Linked DNA regions of Homo sapiens: region 1 is linked to region 2. The links are contacts of gene promoters, found by promoter capture Hi-C in human tissues and cell types (Jung and others, 2019). All regions are on one chromosome and are shown on one strand. Each heading gives the region's core, a stretch centred on a gene start or on the middle of the fragment in contact. The rest is flanking DNA. Distances are from core to core; before and after follow the strand shown.

Region 1 (5,242 bases), core at 403-2,902, 44 kb after region 2:
ATGCTTTATACTTTTACTCTTTTTAATTTCACAATCACCTTTAAATAGAAACTAATGTTATGCTTTCACAGGCCAAAAAAAAAAAAAAAAAAAAAAAAAAAAAAAAGGCTTAGGCTTAGAGAGTTAAGAGAGTATCTTTATCCAAAGTCAAAAGTAAGCTTTACCCTAGGTCAAAGTGAGTACGTGGTAGATCTAGAATTTAGACCCTATTTCCTTCCATACCATGCAACACAACAGTGCAGCATAATGATAAGAGCACAGACTCTGGACGAAAGTTGGAAACCTCACTCTGCCATTTACTAGCTGTGTGACCTTGGACAAAAGTTAAGCTCTGTGTCTTGGGTTACTGACCTGTAAAACAGAGATAATAACAGTGTCTATCTCACAGGTCATAATGAACATAAAACAGTTAATATATATGGTATACAATATAAACATGTGTAAAAGCACTTCAAGTACTACATAAATGTTCATTTTGTGTAATTACTGAAATACCATACTGCTATCATTAACAAAAATCTCCGGCCTTATCTTGTTCAAACCGCAGTGAAAAGGCATTTCTCCAGTTCTCTTTAAGGACAGAGAATCAAGACACATATACCTAAGCACAAGGCTGTGTTAATAAATACAATACTATCAAGCTTAAGGAATGGGTCGGTGACAAGGGATGACCAGAGAAAAAGCAAGCCAGTGGACACAGAAAAAGCAGGGACCTTTTTGCTAACCCATTACTTCCCTGCCGTGGAGTCACTGAGGCAGCTCAGACAGCACTATTTCTGTGTAATTCCTAAACATGCCACATTCACCTGAATCTGGGATTCAGAAAAGAGCCCACTATGAGGAGAATAGTTCTGATCTGAAATTAAATGACTAGTTTTTTGGCCCAGGCATAATGCTATTGTCCCATCTGGGCATATTCTCTCATTTCCACTTCATTATTTCCTATTCCAATTTTACAGGTTCTTCGACTCTTACCTCTATGAAGAATTTCTCTGATCAATGCAGTTCACAGAGATCTTTTTTTCTCAGACTGCTGAGAGACTTTGTGATAAATATTATAATTTGGCACTTAATCAAAGGAAGTCTCAGTTTTAACTGGTTTACATGAATACAGAAACAGTCTAGGCTAAGGGTTTAACTATCTTGAGGTTTATCACAACGCTGGATCTAACACACATTCTACACAATTACTTGCTAAACTGAACCCTGAAAGACTGATTCCTTTGGAATTGCCCTGTAGTGCTAGATGTACCCAGTGGGTTCAACGGCTTCTCACTCACCCTGAGTTGTCAATGTGCAGGAGGACAAAGATGGCCCACTCCCAGAGCCCCTCACTTTCAAGCTGGCCAGCGTAACTGGCCTGTAGCACACCTTCACACTGCGCTGAGAGATGGGTGTAGTTAAGAGCCCTCAGCACTTCCCACAAGTGCCAGCTTAGGCGGTAGTCCAAAGGATCTGCTGTTATGCTTCGAGGCTCCAGCAGCTGGTTGAGATCATAATGTCTGCAAAGAACGTGTTGAGAGTCAACATACACAGCCAGGAGACGGCCTGGACTGATATGTCAACTGTTCTGCTTATGTCTAAGACAATAAAAGAACCTGAGAGTGAAAGCATTATAGGCCTTCTCTCCCTCTGAGCCTATGTTTTATCAATCTATCTCTGGGTTCAGCCAGACTTTAGATCCTACAAAGAAACAAGGCACCTTCTCTTCTAAGGTTGTGTGATCTAACAGGTTTGCTGGTAATGGTTTGGCGTATGTATTTTACCATCCTGATACAGGGAGTCTTCACAGTTCTCACCCTTCCATTCCTTCATTATAATGTCATTACTTTTTTCTTTTTTTTGAGACAGAGTCTCGCTCTGTTGCCCATTTCTGGTATTTTGAAGTATCCTTTTCTTTCTTTCTCTGACATATTTAAAACTGCACGTATCTAGAGTACACAATTTTAATGAGCTTTAACATATGTAGACACCTGTAAAACCACCATCACGATCAAGAAAATAAATAGAGCAAGGCGCGGTGGCTCACGCCTGTAATCCCAACACATTGGAAGGCTGAGGTGGGCGGATCACTTGAGGTCAGGAGAGTTTGAGACCAGCCTGGCCAAGATGGTGAAACTCTTGCCTCTACTAAAAATACAAAAATTAGCCAGGTGTGGTAGTGCATGCCTGTATTCCCGGCTACTCAGGAGGCTGTGGCACAAGAACTGCTGGAACCCAGGAGGCGGAGGTTGTGGTGAGGTGAGATCATACCACTGCACTCTGACAGGGTGAGACTCCAACTCAAAATAATAATAATAATGATGACTCAATTGTAACCTCAACCTCCTGGGCTCATGCGATCCTCTCACTTCAGCCTCCTAAGTAGCTGGGACTACAGATGCATGCCACCATGCCCACCCAATTTAAGAAATTTATTTTTGTAGAGATGGGGTCTCATTATATTGCCCAGGTTGGTCTTGAGCTCCTGGGTTCAAGTGATCGTCCCACTTCAGCGTCACAAACTGCTGGGATTATAGGCATGACGCACCATACCTGGCCTGTTTTCTTATTACTGAATTTTCAGAGTTCTTGATGTATTCCTGGATACAAGTTCTCTATCAGATCTACGAATTGCAAGTATTTTCTCCCAATCTATGGTTTACCTTTTCATTCTCTTAACAGTCTTTCTATGAGCAGTAGTTTTGAAATTTTGTTGAAGTCCAATTTACCAATTTTTTTCTCTTATGAATTGTGTTATTTAGTGTCCACCTAAGAAATCTTCTGCCTAACCTACAGTTGCAAAAATTTTCTGCTTTGTTTTCTTCTAGAAGGTTTATAGTTAAGTTGAAATTTAGGTTTGTAATCCATTATGAGCTGGATAAACAATAGACACAACTAATGAGGCCAGAAGGTGGTTCTTTGAAAAGGTCAATATGATTGCTAAACTCTAGGTACACCAACCAAGAAAAAAAGAGGACGCAATTATTGAACACAAATGACCAGTATCAAAAAGAAAGAGACGTTGTTAAAGATCCTACAGATATTTAAAATGGTTAATAAGGAAATGTTATTAATAACTTGATGCTAATAAATTTTGTGACTTTAGGCCGGGTGCGGTGGCTCACGCCTGTAATCCCAGCACTTTGGGAAGCCAAGGCGGGTGGATCACGAGGTCAGGAGATCGAGACTATCTTGGCTAACAAAACAAGGCTGGGTGCAGTGACTCATGCCTGTAATAGACATTTTAGCAAAGATGTACAGATGGTAAATAAGCACATGACAAAGTGCTCAACATCATTAGACATTAGGGAAATGCAAATGAAACAATGAGAATTTCCAGTATGGGAAGATGAAAAAGTTCTGGAGAGGGTGGTGATGATTGTATAGCAATGTGAATGGACTTAATGCCACTGAACAGTATGCTTAAAATGGTTAAAACAGTAAATTTGGCCGGGCACGGTGGCTCACGCCTGTAATCCCAGCACTCTGGGAGGCTGAGGTGAGCGGATCACGAGGTCAGGAGATCCAGACCATCCTGGCTAACATGGTGAAACCATGGTGAAACCCCGTCTCTACTAAAAATTAGCCGGGCGTGGTGGTGGGTGCCTGTAGTCCCAGCTACTCGGGAAGCTGAGGCAGGAGAATGGTGTGAACCCAGGAGGCAGAGCTTGCAGTGAGCCTAGTTCGCGCCACTGCACTCCAGCCTGGGCGACAGAGCGAGACTCCATCTCAAAAAATAATAATAATAATAAAATAAATAAATAAAAACCAGTAAATTTTAGTTACATTTTACTACAATAAAAAGCTACATTCTATATAATTAATATAGTTAAATACTGGCCAGGCACAGTGGCTCACACCTATAATCCCAGCACTTTGGGAGGCCGAGGCAGGAGGATTACTTGAGGTCAGGAGTTCGAGACCAGCCTGGCCAACGTGGCAAAACCCCATTTCTACTAAAAATACAAAAATTAGCTGGGCTTTGTGGCGCATGCCTGTAACCCCAGCTACTCAGGAGGCTGAGGCAGGAGAATCGCTTGAACCTGGAAGGCAGAGGTTGCAGTGAGGCAAGATCACGCCACTGCACTCTAGACTGGGCGACAGAGAGAGACTGTCTCGAAAATATATATATGTATTTAAATATACATATATATATATATATATATATTTATAAGAAATCACCTTGAAGATTTGAAATGAGATGAGCTATTTGTGTGACTAGAGAAAAAAAAAACAAAAACTGTAAGTATTTCTAAGGTAATGTAAGAAGACTTCTCTGCTGCGTGCAGTGGCTGACACCTGTAATCCCAGTACTTTAGGAGGCCAGCGCAAGTGGATCACTTGAGCTCAGGAGCTTGAGAACAGCCTGGGCAATGTGGCAAAATCTTGTCTACAAAAAATACAAGAATTAGCTGAGTATGGTGGTGCACTCCTGCAGCGCTCAGCTACTCAGGAGGCTGAGGTGAAAGGATCGCCTGAACCCGGGTGGTTGAGACTGCAATGAGCCATGATCATTCCACTGCACACCAGCCCGGGTGACAGAGCAAAACCCTGTCTAAAAACAAAACAAGGCTAGGTGCAGTGGCTCGCGCCTGTAATCCCAGCACTTTGGGAGGCTGAGGTGGGCAGATCACGAGGTCAGGAGATCGAGACCATCTTGGCTAACACGGTGAAACCCTGTCTCTACTAAAAATACAAAAAAATTAGCTGGGCGTGGTGGTGGGTGCCTCTAGTCCCAGCTACTTGGGAGGCTGAGGCAGGAGAATGGCGTGAACCTGGAAGGCAGAGCTTGCAGTGAGCTGAGATTGCACCACTGCACTCCAGCCTGGGCAACTGAGCAAGAGAGTCTGTCTCAAAAAAAAAACCAAAAAACAAAACACCAACACTGAGATAGTTCTAATTACATGGTTAGAAATAATAGCATGTGTTAATATATTATTGTTGGACACCTAAACCACTCTGCATTTCTTTCTTTTTTGGAGACAGGGTCTCTCTCACTCCTATTGCCCAGGCTGGAGTACAGTGATGCAATCATGTCTCACTGCAGGCTCGACTTCCCAGGCTCAGGTGATCCTCCACCCTCAGCCTCCTGAGTAGCTGGGACTACACACTACCACACATGGCTAATTTTTTTTTACTTTTAGTAGAAACAGGGTTTTGCCATATTGCCCAGGCTGGCCTCGAACTCCTGGGCTCAAGTGATCTGCTGGCCTTGGCCTTCCAAAGTGTTGGGATTACAGGTGTGAGCCACCATGGCTGG
Region 2 (4,971 bases), core at 924-3,423:
TTGTTAGAGAGAAGAGGGTGGCATTACCAAATCTGTGGGCCACTGCCTTATCCAGGGAGCTGGAGGCAAACTGGCCCAAGCGGACAGAGTCTCCCAGCCTCTTGGGTTCAAAGCGAAGGCTGCCCACACCTCGGAACACCACCTCCCCAGGTCCCCTGCTGCAGCCCCCACTGCCTCGCAGCAGCTGCAGGGCCCGGATCAGGTAGAAATGCAGGGCCTTGAAGGGAAAGTGCCTCATGTAGAGCTCCCGGGAGCCTCCGCCCGTCCGCACGGCCTGATTCAACTCCCAGTACAAGGTGTTCGATGAGTTGGTGTAGACCATAATGGCTATTCCATTCTGGGCTTTGAAGCCAGGGGGCAAGGTAAGCCCTCGACGCTTGTCCTCCCAGGTCTCCTGGGCTGCCTCCCAGGATTCCCGCAGCAGGGCATGGTGGGCCATTTCCTCCTTTAGCAGGGGGGCTGCCTTCTCCTCCATCTCCTCTGCACAACCCACATAGGTATCGTCAAAGGTGTCTGGAGCCAGGCCCAGGGGCAGGATGGGAACAGCCTGGGCCTGTGGAGCAAAAGAGGTGCCACACCGAAAAGAGCATAAGTTCAGAGCACTGGACATGGGTCCTGGGGGCAAACCCATCCAGAAACACAGAATCTCATTTCTATCCCTAAATATCAGGTATATGCAATTTGGCAAGGGCCCAATAAGAGGCTTAAATAACACAGGCACTGGAGTCAGTCAGACATGGACTGAAATCTTTTTTTTTTTTTTTTTTTTTTGATGGAGTCTTGCTCTGTTGCCCAGGCTGGAGTGCAGTGGTGAGATCTCGGCTCACTGCAAGCGCCACCTCCCAGGTTGGAGTGATTCTCCCACCTCAGCCTCCCAACTAACTGGGATTACCTGTGCATGCCACCATGCCTGGCTAATTTGTTTTTGTGTTTGTTTCTTTGAGACGAAGTCTCGCTCTGTTGCCCAGGCCGGAGTACAATGGCACGATCTTGGCTCACTGCAACCTCTGCCTCCCGGGTTCAAGCAATTCTCCTCTCTCAGCCTCCCAAGTAGCTAGGATTACAGGTGCGCAATACCACGCCCAGCTAATTTTTTGTATTTTTAGTAGAGACAGGGTTTCACCATGTTGGTCAGGCTGGTCTCGAACTCCTGACCTCAAGTGATCCACCAGCCTCAGCCTCCCAAAGTGCTGGGATTACAGGAGTGAGCCACCGCGCGCAGGCTGAAATCTTGACTTTACCACCTATTAGCTGTGAGGCCTTGGGCAAGTGTCATAACTTTTCTGGACTTGAGGATACTTCCAACCTCACAGTTATTATGAAGACAGCATAAAGAGCATTACTTCTGTACAACCTAAAAGGGGTCATCCTGTCATTAGAAAGGTTCTTGCAGTCGGTGGGAGGTGGGACTAGATGACTATCAAGCACTTTTCCGGCTGTAAGATCTGGCAGGCAGGTGATGTGCAAATATTACACACAGCCAGTGTCCAGCTGCCTAACCCCCAGCCCCATTCTCCTCGGGCTCTCTTTCCCTCTCATCCAGCAGGAAGCCCTTGCAGGTAGGTGCTCAGCCACCACACCAAATCACTGTGAGCTCTGAGACGCCTGAGTCCTCCCCTGCTCTGTACCCACATTTGGGGTAGGGGTGGTGGGGAGGCCAAGCCTTGGTTGGGACGGGCTGCCAGGACTGCAGCACACAGGTAACCCAAGGAGGCTTTGCCGGGCTGTGCCTGCGCTGGGAGATGAGAGGTGGGGAGGAGAACGTTGGAGGCATCCAGAGAGGGATGGAGATGGGGGTTCTAGGAGACAGAATGGGAACTTGGGGCTCCCTGCAGAGATGGAGGTTCCTGAGAGGAAGAGAGTTAAGAGTGGAATCCTAGGGAAGAGTCCCTGGGAGAGGGATGTGAGGAGTCAGCCCCGGGTCCACTTCCTCAGGGTCTGTCCCTTAATGTCCCCCTTGGGGCTAGGAGATGGTTCCTGGAGTTACCTGCCAGGTGTGGAGGCCGAGGCTGCCGAGGGCGATCATCAAAGCCGCCAGCGCCATCCCTGGAGGAGACGTGAGGGCCAGGGGTCCGGGTGAGGGCGGGACCAGAGGTGCTGGAGTCCTGGTTTCGAGGGGCTGGAGGCAGATCTGGACCCTGTCTCCAGGCGCACGGGATCCCGGGTCCAGGATTAGGGCCCCGGCGGGGCGTGGGCGGGGCCTGGGAGTTTATTGCCCGCCCCCCGCCCCAAGTCTCCGCCCCCGACTCCCCACACCCCTTCCTCAGAGCCTCCAGTCTGGGGACCTTTCCGAGACTGTAAAGGCGGGGCCGCAGTTTGGCTCCGCCTGAGAGGGGAGGGCCGGGGGCGGAGGACCCACTTGAAGGCTGCGGAAGCCGCCAGCGGGAGGGAGCGCCGAGGGCTCTGGCGGGCGCTGCGCTGTCCCCGGAGGAGTCCGGAGTCCGGCTGAAAGCAAAGGTTCTCGAGGCTAACTGTAGCCCCCGCGCTGGTAACCCGACACCCCTTTCCCAGCGCCGCACGCGGGGCCGGGAGCGGGCGCGCCAGGGCAGGGACTGAGGAGCAATTCCCTTTCTCAAGGCCTGCGGGGTCTTTCTGCGGGACCCTCTTTGGCTGTGAGTGATGGGGAGGAAACTTGTGAGACTCGGCCTCTCCCTCAGGCGGGCCCTGACCCGGTCGGCCCCTGGTCCCCGGCCCACCAGGCCAGGGGCCCCGCGGGGGTCCCGCCGGCCGAGAGGTCGCCCCCGGAGCACTGCGATTTGCATACAGTTTGCATTTGGCCCACACCCTGGGCCACGTGCTCCAGCATCTGAGCAGCGCCCACTCCCTGCCTGCTCTGGGCCCTCTCCCCATTCGCCTTCAGTGGGGTTGGGCCAGAGACAGAGCCCTTGGTCGCAGATCCACAGGGTCCGGTCTCGCCCCTCCCCCAGACCGCTCTCGTGGCCGCTCAGACTCAGGTGACCCATGTTTGTAAACACTGGCCTTTCCCCCACCTCCTCTGGGCTTATCTATAAATAACCTGGCTCTGAGTTTTGGATGCCCCGTCAGAGGTCATGGGAGAAGGGGCCAGCGGAGGAATTGGTAACTCAGGGAAGAGCTTCCTAGCAGCCAGAGCCAGGAGGAGGTGGGGTTGTCACCCCTCCTTCCCCCAGCGGCCGGAGGGTCGCCGAAAGCTAGGATTTGAGAAATGCTGCCTGCTGGGGCTGAGGTGGGCACGAAAGATTAGAGCTACCCAAAGGAATCCATCCTGGTCTGGCTCATTAATTTTCCCCATCCCTGTCCCCCCATCCCCTCAGAGTGTCAGCCAAATAAAAAGTTTCCTCCACCTAGAATCCTGCTATCTCCCAGAATCCTTTCTGTAGACCAAACGGGAAGACATACGGTGGGTCCAGGCTTGGAGGAGGGTGGGGAGGGAGGTGCTTCTGAGTGCTTGTTAGAAAAACAGCTCCAGGGCAGGGCGCAGTGGCTCCCGCCTGTAATCCCAGCACTTTGGGAGGCTGAAGTGGGAGGATCACGAGGTCAGGAGTTCGGGACCAGCCTGGCCAACAAAGATTAGCCGGGCGTGGTGGCAGGGGCCTGTAATCCCAGCTACTTGGGTGGCTGAGGCAGGAGAATCGCCTGAAACCGGAAGGTGGAGATTGCAGTGAGCTGAGATGGAGCCACTGCACTCCAGCCTGGGCAAAAGGGCGAAACTCCATCTCAAAAAAAAAAAAAAAGAAAAAAGAAAGAAAGAAAGAAAAACAGCTCCAGGACAAGTTCTTTTGCCCCCTTCTATGAGTCTAGCCATCCCAAAGCCCTCCCAGATTCTAAAATAAGGAATCATCCTACCGTTTCCCATCATGGTGAAAAACAGCATTTGCCTATATATCCTGCCTGCCCACTCTCTGGAGGAAGTTGAGTGTTTGCAGTTGCTTGAAAAGATACCACCTGAGGACAGCTTGGCCTGCTGGGATGACCCGAGACCAGATGTATTGGAATCACTGCTTTGTCCCTCTCCACCCTCTGGCTTTGGGGGATTGCTTCTCCCATCCCAGGACCTGGAACCCAAAATAAGGCCCCAAGAGATGGATTCAAATCTAGTCATTGGGGGCCGGGTGCGGTGGCTCACACCTGTAATCCCAGCACTTTGGGAGGCCGAGGCAGGCGGATCACGAGGTCAAGAGATCGAGACCATCCTGGCCAACATGGTGAAACCCCATCTCTACTAAAAATACAAAAATTAGCTGGGCGTGGTGGCAGGCGCCTGTAGTCCCAGCTATTCAGGAGGCTGAGGCAGGAGAATCGCTTGAACCCGAGAGGCAGAGGTTACAGTGAGCCAAGATTGCGCCACTGCACTCCAGCCTGGTGACAGAGCGAGACTCCATCTAAAAAAAAAAACTAGTCATTGGGCAGGGATCCTAAGTATAGCATTAAGAAGTCCTGCAAGATCACTGGTAAGTCAGAGCTGGAACTGGGACTCAGAATACAGCCTCCTTAGTTCGAATCTCTCCTGGCACCTTAGCTAAGTCTCAGTGTTTGTGTGAAAGGTACAAAATCTAAGGAGACGCTCTCTGAGGTCGGGGTGCTGAAGCTTCCTCCTCTCTTCCTCCTCCTTGGCTGACCAGAGTACAGGACCACAGCCAGTGAGGAGGCAGTTGTCCCAGCCTGGATCCCCAGTGCTTCAGTCCACCTCCTCTCTGGCTTCAGGGATTCCCTTTTTTGTGGGAAATGTAGCAGGAAGAGCCTCAGACAAAACCCCTCAGATGCTGAGTTAAAGAAGGAAGGGGTTTATTCAGCTGGGAGCATCGGCAAGACTCCTGTCTCAAGAGCTGAGCTCCCTGAGTGAGCAATTCCTATCCCTTTTAAGGGCTCACAACTCTAAGGGGGTCCGCGTGAGAGCGTCGTGATCGATTGAGCAAGCAGCGGGTACGTGACTGGGGGATGCATACACCGGTAATTAGAAGGGAACAGAACAGGACAGGGATCTTCACAGTG

Evidence for each region. Contacts are between HindIII fragments. The study calls those that stand out against the background at their distance.
Region 1: a fragment that was not itself captured here is called in contact with the fragment with the promoter of ART5 in region 2 in 1 of the 25 tissues and cell types used here (mesendoderm cells).

Annotation. Positions count from the first base shown.
Region 1 is chr11:3,684,693-3,689,934 of GRCh38, forward strand. NUP98 (nucleoporin 98 and 96 precursor) reads right to left here. Exons shown (of 33, transcript NM_016320.5): 29 at 1,281-1,502. Among named protein-coding and RNA genes, the nearest start is that of CHRNA10, 16 kb to the left of the region's middle. The HindIII fragment of the contact is 6,430 bases long and covers 1-4,867 here.
Region 2 is chr11:3,639,819-3,644,789 of GRCh38, forward strand. ART5 (ADP-ribosyltransferase 5) reads right to left here and starts at 2,174. Exons shown (of 4, transcript NM_053017.5): 1 at 1,988-2,174; 2 at 1-553. The coding sequence starts at 2,044. RefSeq lists an enhancer at 1,881-2,594 and a silencer at 2,734-2,783. The HindIII fragment of the contact is 5,679 bases long and covers 822-4,971 here.